2 separate regions of the Homo sapiens genome follow, and region 1 is linked to region 2. The links are contacts of gene promoters, found by promoter capture Hi-C in human tissues and cell types (Jung and others, 2019). All regions are on one chromosome and are shown on one strand. The core of a region is centred on a gene start or on the middle of the fragment in contact, and the rest is flanking DNA. Distances in the headings are between cores, read along the strand shown.

Evidence for each region. Contacts are between HindIII fragments. The study calls those that stand out against the background at their distance.
Region 1: a fragment that was not itself captured here is called in contact with the fragment with the promoter of PRKAG1 in region 2 in 1 of the 25 tissues and cell types used here (hippocampus).

What each region holds. Positions count from the first base shown.
Region 1 is chr12:49,740,620-49,745,719 of GRCh38, reverse strand. TMBIM6 (transmembrane BAX inhibitor motif containing 6) reads right to left here and starts at 4,163. Exons shown (of 10, transcript NM_003217.3): 1 at 4,109-4,163. RefSeq lists enhancers at 3,907-4,226, 3,847-4,538, 4,467-4,596. The HindIII fragment of the contact is 3,558 bases long and covers 1-3,301 here.
Region 2 is chr12:49,016,528-49,021,261 of GRCh38, reverse strand. It overlaps PRKAG1 (protein kinase AMP-activated non-catalytic subunit gamma 1), which reads left to right and starts at 2,486. Exons shown (of 12, transcript NM_002733.5): 1 at 2,486-2,530. The coding sequence starts at 2,522. It overlaps KMT2D (lysine methyltransferase 2D), which reads left to right. Exons shown (of 55, transcript NM_003482.4): 55 at 1-2,284. DDN-AS1 (DDN and PRKAG1 antisense RNA 1) reads right to left here. Exons shown (of 2, transcript NR_147179.1): 2 at 2,022-3,026. RefSeq lists enhancers at 2,083-2,282, 2,855-3,445. The HindIII fragment of the contact is 13,264 bases long and covers 525-4,734 here.

The DNA.
Region 1 (5,100 bases), core at 273-2,772, 730 kb before region 2:
AGAGTCTCGCTCTGTTGCCCAGGCTGGAGTGCAGTGGCACGATCTCAGCTCACTGCAACCTCTGCCTCCTGGGTTCAAGTGATTATCATGCCTCAGCCTCCCAAGTAGCTGGGATTACAGGTGTGTGCCACCATGCCCAGCTAATTTTTGTATTTTAAGTAGATACAGGGTTTTGCCATGTTGGCCAGGCTGGTCTCAAACTCCTGACCTCAAGTGATCTGCCCACCTCGGCCTCCCAAAGTGCTGGGATTACAGGCATGAGCCACCATGCCTGGCCTGAAGTACAGTTTCTAGCAAACAGGTAGCACTTTTGCATCATTATAAAGTAAAAAATCATTAAGTCCAATCATCATAAATTGGGGCCCGTCTGTACTTTTGTTTAAATGGCATACCTTTCTTCTAGCACATTTATACTATCTCTCTTGTCCCACAGGGCCATGGACATTTTGAGACAGCCTAATAGCCACTAAGTGATAATCTGATATGGTAAAGGATTTGATGAAGTAAATGCGCAAAAGCTTGATGCTTTCCCTGCCACTCCCAGGAGGTAGGTCAGTTCAGTTTCGGAACCATCCAAGGAATTGTTTCATTCAACTAGGACCAAGCTTTGATCTTCCCAGGTGGACACCCTAGATGTCCCCGCCTCTCCCTTAACTTGGACCCAAATCCCTGGATTAGCTAATACTGAATCCATCTCCTCCAGGGGGCTGCCTCAAAACCAAACCAGTAACTGGAGATGAAATGCCTACTGCCTTCAGTAAATTATTTTTTGTACCAAACGTTGACACTACTTCATCTCCCTCTCTATAACGTTTGACAGATACTGAATCCTAAGAAGGCCCCAAAATCCTAAATACATAATCTTCTTCCAGTATAAACCAGTAATCCCTCCCTAATAACACCATATTTAGCCCAAATGGGGAGCACACATAAATTAAGACAAACAGCATACCCACTTCACCCTCACTGGTGAAGCTCCTTTTTCACGTGTTTTGGATTCCAGTTAATTGTGCAGAAACTTCTCACCCTGAGGGCAGAGCTTGCATCTGGTTCAGCTCAGCTATCCCCAAGATTTAAGCACTACAAAGTCTCTAGAGCAAATTTAGACCCTATTATCAGATCAAGAGTGCTGTAACCTCAAATCAACATTCCCCAGCTGGCTCAGAGTGGAACCTACCTCAAGGGGTCACTTAGGTAACCTTTAAGTCAAGGAGACAGCCTTTCTCTCCTTGGTCTCGAACACCATCTTTGGAAAACAAAATGTGTATAAAAACTACGAAGGGCTGCATGCAGTTTGGTTAGAAACTCTGGGGGAACAAAACAGAGTGGTAGAAGACATTTCTACCAGATTCTACAACCAGGTCAAAGTAGTAAAGGAAAAAAAATCAGAAGTTAGAGCATCAGAATATTCAATGGTTTCTCTAGAGAAAATTAATACCCTTGGGCAGTTTACGAAATAAAATGAAACTCGTCAGGCCAGCAGTAGTACCTTCTATACTAATACTCCTGACTATATTTATATAAAATTTATAACTTTTAAGGTGCTTTTATATATGTATCACCTTCAATCCTCACACATCAACCCACAAGGAAAGGGAAAGATTAGGCCCATTTTATACATCTTTTTTAAGTTCAAAAAGGCAATGTAATAGTGGCAAGAGGACAGGATTTGGTGTCACAAGTGCTGCCACTTTCTACTATATAACCTAGGAAAAATCATTTTACCTAAGGTTATTTCAGCTTCCTCATCTGTAAGATAACGATGATGATCAATACCTGCTCTACTGAATGCCAATAAGAAAATCTGTGTGAAATCAACGTAAAGTACTAAAACAAACATTAGTATTGATTTGACCAACATTAGAAAGTTAAATAGCAGAGCCAGAACCAGATTTGGGGTCTTCTGACCACTATAGTCTAGTGCTCTTTTTACTATTCCATCCTACAGTAGAAAAATAAGCTTTCATTTATATAAGCTTTCAAAAGTTTCAGCCATAGGTGAAAACAAATCTTTAAAACAAAAAAACCCTCCCAAAACATACATTGATTCCTATGACATTTTTCTGCATTTTCAGCATTTGTATAAAGAGCGCGAACTATATCTATAATCAGGGAAAATAACTTGAAAATGCTAAGTATCTAGATTAATTTTACCTTTTCTTATTCTTCAGGAGAGATGACTCTTTTTCTTTAGGAAAGGATTACACCTGTAATCCTAGCAATTTGGGAGGTCAAGGCGGGCGAATCGCTTGAGGTGTGGAGTTCGAGACCAGGCTGGACAACTTGGCAAAAGCCCGTCTCTACTAAAAATACAAAAATTAGCTGGGCATGGTGGTGCGCGCCTGTCATCTCAGCTGCTTAGGAGGCTGAGGCATGAGAATTGAATGCACCAGGGAGGCGGAGGTTGCAGTGAGCCGAGATTGCACCACTGCACTCCAGCTTGGGTAAGGGAGTGAGACTGTCTCAAAAAAAAAACATAATAATAATAATAAATAAATAAATCGCTTGAGTTCTGGAGTTGGTAAGCCTGGGCAACATGGTGATACCCCATCTCCACAAAAAATACAAAAATTAGCTGGAGCTGGTGACGTCCACCTGTGGTCCTAGCTACTCAGGAGGCTGGGGTGGATCACCTAAGCCAGGAGAGGTCAAGGTTCAAGTGAGCCATGACTGCGCCACTGCACTCTAGCCTGGGCGACAGTGAGACTCTGCCTCAAAAAAAAAAAAAAAAAAAAAGAGGAGGAAGGTACTAAACCATGTTTCCACAACCAGATAAATAACGGAAGAAGCAAACTATGGATCAAAAGTACAGATTGTATTTCTCAAGGGTTCAACTATTCTGTCCCTACTGGAGGAAAGTGGCGGCAGAGAATCTAAATGTCAACATATTCTTTAGGCCAGAACAAAAATATTAGACACAAAGAATAAGAAAACACCAAAGAGTGTAAATACAATAATTACAGAAAAAAGTGTGTATACGCAGGTCATAAGAAATGTGTTTATGCAATTCCGGTATCTTTCCAGAATTCAATTCTTAAACCACACATACAAAAGATAAACTGTAAATAAATATCAATAAGTAACTAGAAAAGTCCATTTGCCATTTATTTACCTTTGACCTTAAAATCCTTGTCTGTTTCAAGCACAGTCAGCCCTTCTACTGGGTTACACATTCACAAGTTGCTAGAACACAGTCTCAAGTTCATAGTGATTTTTGTTGTGGGGGTGGTCAATGAAAGGCTGATGACCCCAAGCAGCCCGGGCTGGCACCGGGTAGTAATTCTACACTCAGTAAATATACAAAGATACCAAAGCCTACTTGTTACCACAGGTCCAGCAAGTAGGCCCAAGATAAAAACTGCCCAACGACGCCCTTGCTGAGCAGACTTAGAAAGACGCCCACAAAACCTCAAGACCAAGCAAAGCAAAGCCACCTCACCTGCCCAAAGGTAACCAATCCGAAAAGAGCGGGGCCGCCCCGTGGGCCTGGAAGGCAGCCCCAGCCCCAGACTCCTCTCACTTCCCGCCTCTGCCGTTGGCTAAGTAACTGAGGAGCCTCGCGTGTCACAGAGGAGTGTGACATCACCCGCCCGCCAGGCCCTACCTCGAGTCTTGGCTCCGGGCCGCTCACCCAGGGTCAGCCCGACCAAAGGACCCGCCCGCAGCCGAACAGCAATCGGATGGGTGGAGTTTCGCGTTCCTTCACCTCGGAAGGACGTGCTCTGAATTCGAACGATCGAAGCTAGGCCAAGGGGCCCTGCGTCTACACTTAGTAGAGGAGAAGGAGCGGGAGAAAGGAAAAGGCGGGCTGAGAAGGGGCCTTCGCCAGCGCTCTGGGGCAGAATAGAGGCCTCGACACCCCCCAAAACCCCCGCAGACTCGCCTCCGCCCCACCCCCGCTTCAGCACTGTTGCGCACGCGCAGCACTAGTTCCCTAGCTTCCCTCCACACCCTGTTTTCCCGAGTCTGGTCTCCGAGCAGGGCCTCGTTCCTTCAGGGTGCCATCTGTCCGCAGAAGGAAGCTACTGCCACTCTTGCTCAGACAGTAACTGCTAACTCCCTTTCCATTTCTCACTCCCAGTTCGCCCAGTACTAGGTTCAGACGTACCTTCCTAACCCGCCTCTCCAAGGCCTACCAGCGCTTCTAACACCGGATGTGCTCTGACTCGCCCACTTCCGCTCCCGATCTTTTACCCGGCGTTCGCCTCTCGAGGGAAACCCCGCCCTGTGGTCCGCTTAAGACCAGTCCTCATTGGCCGTTGGCCGCACTCCTGCCTTTCCATTGGCTGTACGTGCATAAACAGCGGCTGCTTAGTTCAGAGGCCTGAGCTTGTCGATCAAGACTACTGGCCACCAACCGCCTCGAAGCAAAAGGTCTCCGCTTTCTTACCGTAGTAAGCCAGGGTCACGGTGCGCTGCTGCCTCTAGTGGAGAAAGTGAAAATGGGCCGGCCCCGCCCGGGACAGCCCGACGGCTTGTGAAGGGGTAGCGCTGCAGTCTTGGGATTCTGGCTTTAGTCTTGTCATGCAGTGTTAAAGGGGGAAAGCGATTCAGAGAACACATTAAAAAAAAAAAAAAAGCGCCCTCGCAAGGGGCGATTTACTGTGAAACTAGTGGAGCGTAAGCTTCAGAGCACCTTTGAAAACACTTCGATTTCTCTAGAGTATGCGAGAAGGAAATAGCAGGATTCCAGGAGGAAAACCAGAATTTAGGAAACCACTTTCTGGAAAGATAGAACAGTTCTTTTCAGTAAAGAATACAAATATCCAGGGTATGATTCTCAGTAGGCAAACCCAGGTATGCAATTAATAGAAGTTAATTTTCGGCTGGGCGTGGTGGCTTACGTCTGTAATCCCAGCACTTTGGGAGGCTGAGGTGGGCAGATCACTTGAGGCCAGGAGTTTGAGACCAGCCTGGCTAACATGGTAAAACCCCATCTCTATTAAAAATTTAAAAAATTAGCTGGGCGTGGTGGCGTGTGCCTGTAATCCCAACTACTCGGGAGGCTGAGGCAGGAGAATTGCTTGACCCTGGAGGTGAAGGTTGCAGTGAGCCGAGATGGTGCCACTGCACTCCAGCCTGGGAGACAGAGCGAGACCC
Region 2 (4,734 bases), core at 1,237-3,736:
CTCTGTTTCCCTCTTTTCCTCTGTGTTTCTGTCTCTCTATGGGTTGTGTTTCCTTGTTTTCCACTCTGACAAATGCAACATGAACGGGAAAGAGGCGCCCAGCTGCCTAGGAGGGCAAGCTGGGCAAGCCGGGCAAGGAGACCCCGCACCCACACCTACCTCATTTAAGTGTTGGATTTTTTGCTGTTTTGAAATGTGAGACCCTCTCCAAGCCCCCTACTGCCCCAACCCTCTCCCCCACCTCACTGCCCTCTTCTGAGTGGGTGGAAGGGGGGTAGGAGGAGGAAGAAAAACAACAACAAAAAATCCATCTTTGTTTTTAATTATGGGCATGGGATGGTGGTTGAGGCAAATGATGATGAAGATTGGGGATGACTGGCCCCTAGTTGCTCTAGGACTTCCTTCTCCATCTGGACATGGGGGCAGGAGGGAGCTAAACCTAGGACCAGGATATCTCCCTCCTGTTTTCCCAACCTCATCATGAGCCTGTTTGCCCTCCAGCCCCTGGACGGGTTGGGTGGGGGGTAGGGTGAGGGCTATCCCTGAGTGGCATGCCCATACCTAGTGAGGCAGGGTGTGGCCCGGAGCTCCCACTTTCCCTCAGTCACCAAACTGCTGCTGGTCTGGTGGGAAGGGGTGGTGATGTGGGGGTGGGGGAGCTTAGTGTCAGCGCGGGGAGGGTGGGGGGTATTTATCTATTTATACATGGGATTGTACATAGTCTTGTGGGGCATGGGGGAGCCGGCTGGAGGTGAGAACCCTCCCCTCTCCCCCCACCCCCCGGGGAGAGCAAATGTAAAACTACTAATTTTTGTGCTTTATATATTCTATATAAATATATCTATTTTCTTTTTACAAAACCAGTTTATAAATGGTAGGGGGGTGTGGGGCGGACACATGGAGCTCCCCTTGTGGGGGGGCCCCCTCCATTACCCGACCTACCGCCCTTTTCCTCACCCCCCACCCCACTCCCCACCCCCTGGCTGTGACTGCTGTAAGATGGGGGTATAGAGGCTGGGCAATTCCCACCCCCTGTTGTATAGTTGGACTATGTTATAACGCACAAAAGAGAGCTGACCCCAGGGGGAGCCAGAGGGTGATGGGTTCCTTGCCTCCCTTTCCTTCCCCTTTCTGCCCAAGCTTGTGCTGCAGTTGAACCTCTTCCTGGGGGTGGGAGTAGGTAAGGGGTGGGTGAGGCCCCAAACCCCTCTCTGGTAGGGAACCGTGGGGATGAAGATGAAGCTTATATGCAGTTCTCTTCTAGGGGCTGTGGGCAAAGGGCATTTTGTAATTAATATTTTCAAGAATCAGATGTCTGGAGTGTAGGGGTGGGCTTGGTGGTGGTGGACGGGCGGGCCTGCTGGAGGGGGAGCTTGGTCGCTGTTGTGATTTTAGGTTTGTTTTTGTTTTGTTTTGAATTTGGGGGGTTGTGGATTGTTGGGGGTAGGGAGATTTTTTTTTTTTAAAGCTGCTTCCTCAACTGTTTCAAGCTGCAAATGTTTAAGAGAATAACAGCCCCCACTCCCACAGGAACCGCTGTAATTAAATCAGACAGTAGGAAGACTGGGCTGCTGCCCTCAAAGCCACAGCCCTTGGATGTTCCTTTTCCGAGAGCAGAAGGTCTAGGCTACAGGGAGGGGGAGATTGGCTCCCGTGAGTCAGGCTGTGTTTGGGGCTTGGGCCCTGGGATTGGGAAAAGGGGATGGGGCAGACTTTGTAAGCATATGCTAGGTATCCGATAGTCCTGTAGAATTTAGTGAAGAAACCTTATACAGTTTTTAATTTTTATATAAACTATAACTCAGACCCAAGCTACAAGGTTGGAATTTTGGTTGGTTTTTTTTTTAAGTACCCTGCCTGTATAATTGCATCAGAATCCCCCACCCCACCCCCCGCCCCCGTGTTTGTATTTTGGGTTGGTTTACACTCGCACATACTCAGTTTTCAGTTTTCCCCTTTACAGTCTTCTCCCCTCACCTCCAGGACCCTCCCCCTTTTTAAAAAATAAATCGCTGACAAGTGTGAATCCCGTGAAGACTTTATTTTGTGTTGTGTGTATCCTGTACAGCAAGGTTGGTCCTTCGTAACAACGGATGAAATGGTTCCCTTTTTTAAAGCGCCCTCTCTCCCTCCACCCTCAGCGCCCCTGTCCTTGGCATGTTTTGTATCAGCGATCATTCTGAACTGTACATATTTATGTTGCGAGAGGCAAAGGGCAAGTTTTGGATTTTGCTTCTTCCAAGTTTGTTTTTAAACGACAAATAAAAAAAGAACATTTTAAATACAAGCGGCTCCGTCCCATGACCCTCGCCGTCAGCCGGATCCGTGCGGTCCGCGAGGACCCGGGGGAGGGCGGTTACCGAGGCCCGCCACCGCCGGAAGGGTGGGTTCCTTGCCTTCCGCCCCAGTCTGGCGACTGCCATGACGTGGGCGGAAGTGGCGTCGCCGCACCGGATGTGGGGCGGGGCCTGCCCCAAGAGAGTTTCCTAAAGCGAGGAAACCAAGCCGGGCGCCTCTTGCAATGGAGACGGTGAGGAGTGCAGGAGGGCGGTCGGGGGCGCTGTGGAGCCTAAGACACCCCCCCAACCCTTAGGAGACCGGGAGGGCCGGGCAGGGGCTGGCGCTGGTGTCTAGCAAACAAAAAGCAGCCGGGTGTCTGCCCTATCCCGTGACCCTGTTCCTCCGCTTCTTCGTTGGGCGCATCTCCTGGAACTGGGCCGCGTCCCCGCCGCCTTTCCGTACGCGGTACCCTTAGCCCAAGCAGGCAGTGACTCCTGGCTCCCTCCTTGGGGCCCACGTATGCCGTGGCAATCTCGGGCCTCCTTTCCTATTGGCACCTCAAGCCCTTTTAGAGGTTTGAGAGCGCAGGGTTGTGAGCCGGCTTTGCTGGGTGAGGCACGGGGCGTCCAGAGGGATCTCCGCTTGCAGGTAGCTCCTGGACCTCGATGGTCTTTCTGTGATCCCTGCAATCCCCGGCAGGAGGACATCTGAAGATCTTTATACTGCGTCCAGTGAAGTCACATTCCCTTAATAAGACCGAGAATTGAGGTTTGCTTGAAAGAGGAAATCTTGCAGTGTTAGAGGCCGATGTGTCCCTGGACAATTTTAGGTCATGGCCCGCTCTGCGACTCTAAGCAGGGGTTTTGGCATAGCTCATTCTTGGCGAGCAGGCATTGACCAATTGTGGCAGGGCCCTGTCACCCTCCCACAGATGCTGCGGGTTGCCTGCTACATGTTTGCACCCACCCTCACTCTCAGGAGTCTTTTTCTAGCGCTCTGTAACCCCTCCCATACACTTCCCTCTCCACAGTTTTTAACCATGTGTCTTCTTTCAGGCAGAGTAACTCTTTCCATCTTGGTTTTTATCATCTGCTACTGTAGTTACGAAAGGACTGCAGGTTCACTTTGCTTTGGATTACATGCCCAGAGTAATTCTTTGCCACACCGTTTCTCTGCTCACAGAGAGGTTGTTTCTTTCAGGTTTTCAAAAAGAAAACCGACCAAAGTACTAAAATGATTCGCAGTTGGTCTCCCAGGCAAGGGAGCCAATTCTGACTAATCAGGATAATCTTAAACAAAAATAAGGAGTCTAATTCCATTAAATTTAAAATGACATGTCATATTCTACTTACTTGTAAATGTATTATGGTTTACAAAGCATTTTTATATAGATTTTCTAATTTAGCCTTTACACTTTATGTACTGGATTAGGCTCTGGGGTAGAAGTTAAAAAGAGGAAAAAGAAAACTCAGCCAGGTGTGGTGGCTCACGCCTGTAATGCCAGTACTTTGGGAGGCCAAGGCAAGTGGATTGCTTGAGCTCAGGAGTTCAGCATCAGCCTGGGCAACATGATGAAAGCCTGTCTCGACAGAAACAAAAATACAAAAATTACCCAGGCGTGGTGGTGGTGGTGTGTGCCTGTAGTCCCAGCTACTCGGGAGGCTCAGGTGGGAGGATCGCTTGATCCAAAGAGGTGGAGGCTGGAGTGAGCTGAGATCATGCCACTGCACTCCAGTCTGAGTGACACAGTGAGATCCTGTCTCCAAAAAAAAAGAAAAGAAAGAAAACTCCTGCTTTGAAAATGTTCAGCCTAACTGGAGTGATGGTGAGGGCAAGCCAGCAACAGCTGTTATTTAAAGGTAGACTATAATAAATGCTGTCATCAATATGAAAACAGAGGACTGTGACAGAATAGCTGAGAGAAAAATTACTTTGGACCTAGGAGAGGGCACTGCAAATTGAGAGAACAGTGTGAGCAAGGGCACTGAAATTGGGGTATGTAGAGAACTGGGGGTGAGCCAGCGGCATGATGTTGCTGGCTTTGGATTTTGGTCACAGTGGGAGAAAAGACTGGAAAAGCAGGCTAAGATCAGGTTGAAGGTATTACACACCATGCTAAATTTGAACTTTGTTTTGTAATAGGGGACCCATGGAAGATTTATGAGCAAGTCAGTGAATGTCCTTTAGGAATGTTCATAGCAGCTTTCTGTACATGGACTGAGCTACTTCGAAAAGTAAAGTTTCTTGTTAATGGGGATGAAAGTCCCTTCCAAATCTGAGATGCTTTGGTGAACAAACTTGGTGAAAGCATGAAAGATAAATTGAAGAACAGATAGATTTGGGCCAAGGACCCCAGTTTAAACAACGTTGCAGAGGTGAGAGGTAAAAGCCTAAATTAAGGCTGTGATATTGGCAATGAGAGAGATGGATCTGAGACATTTCTAACATACCAGC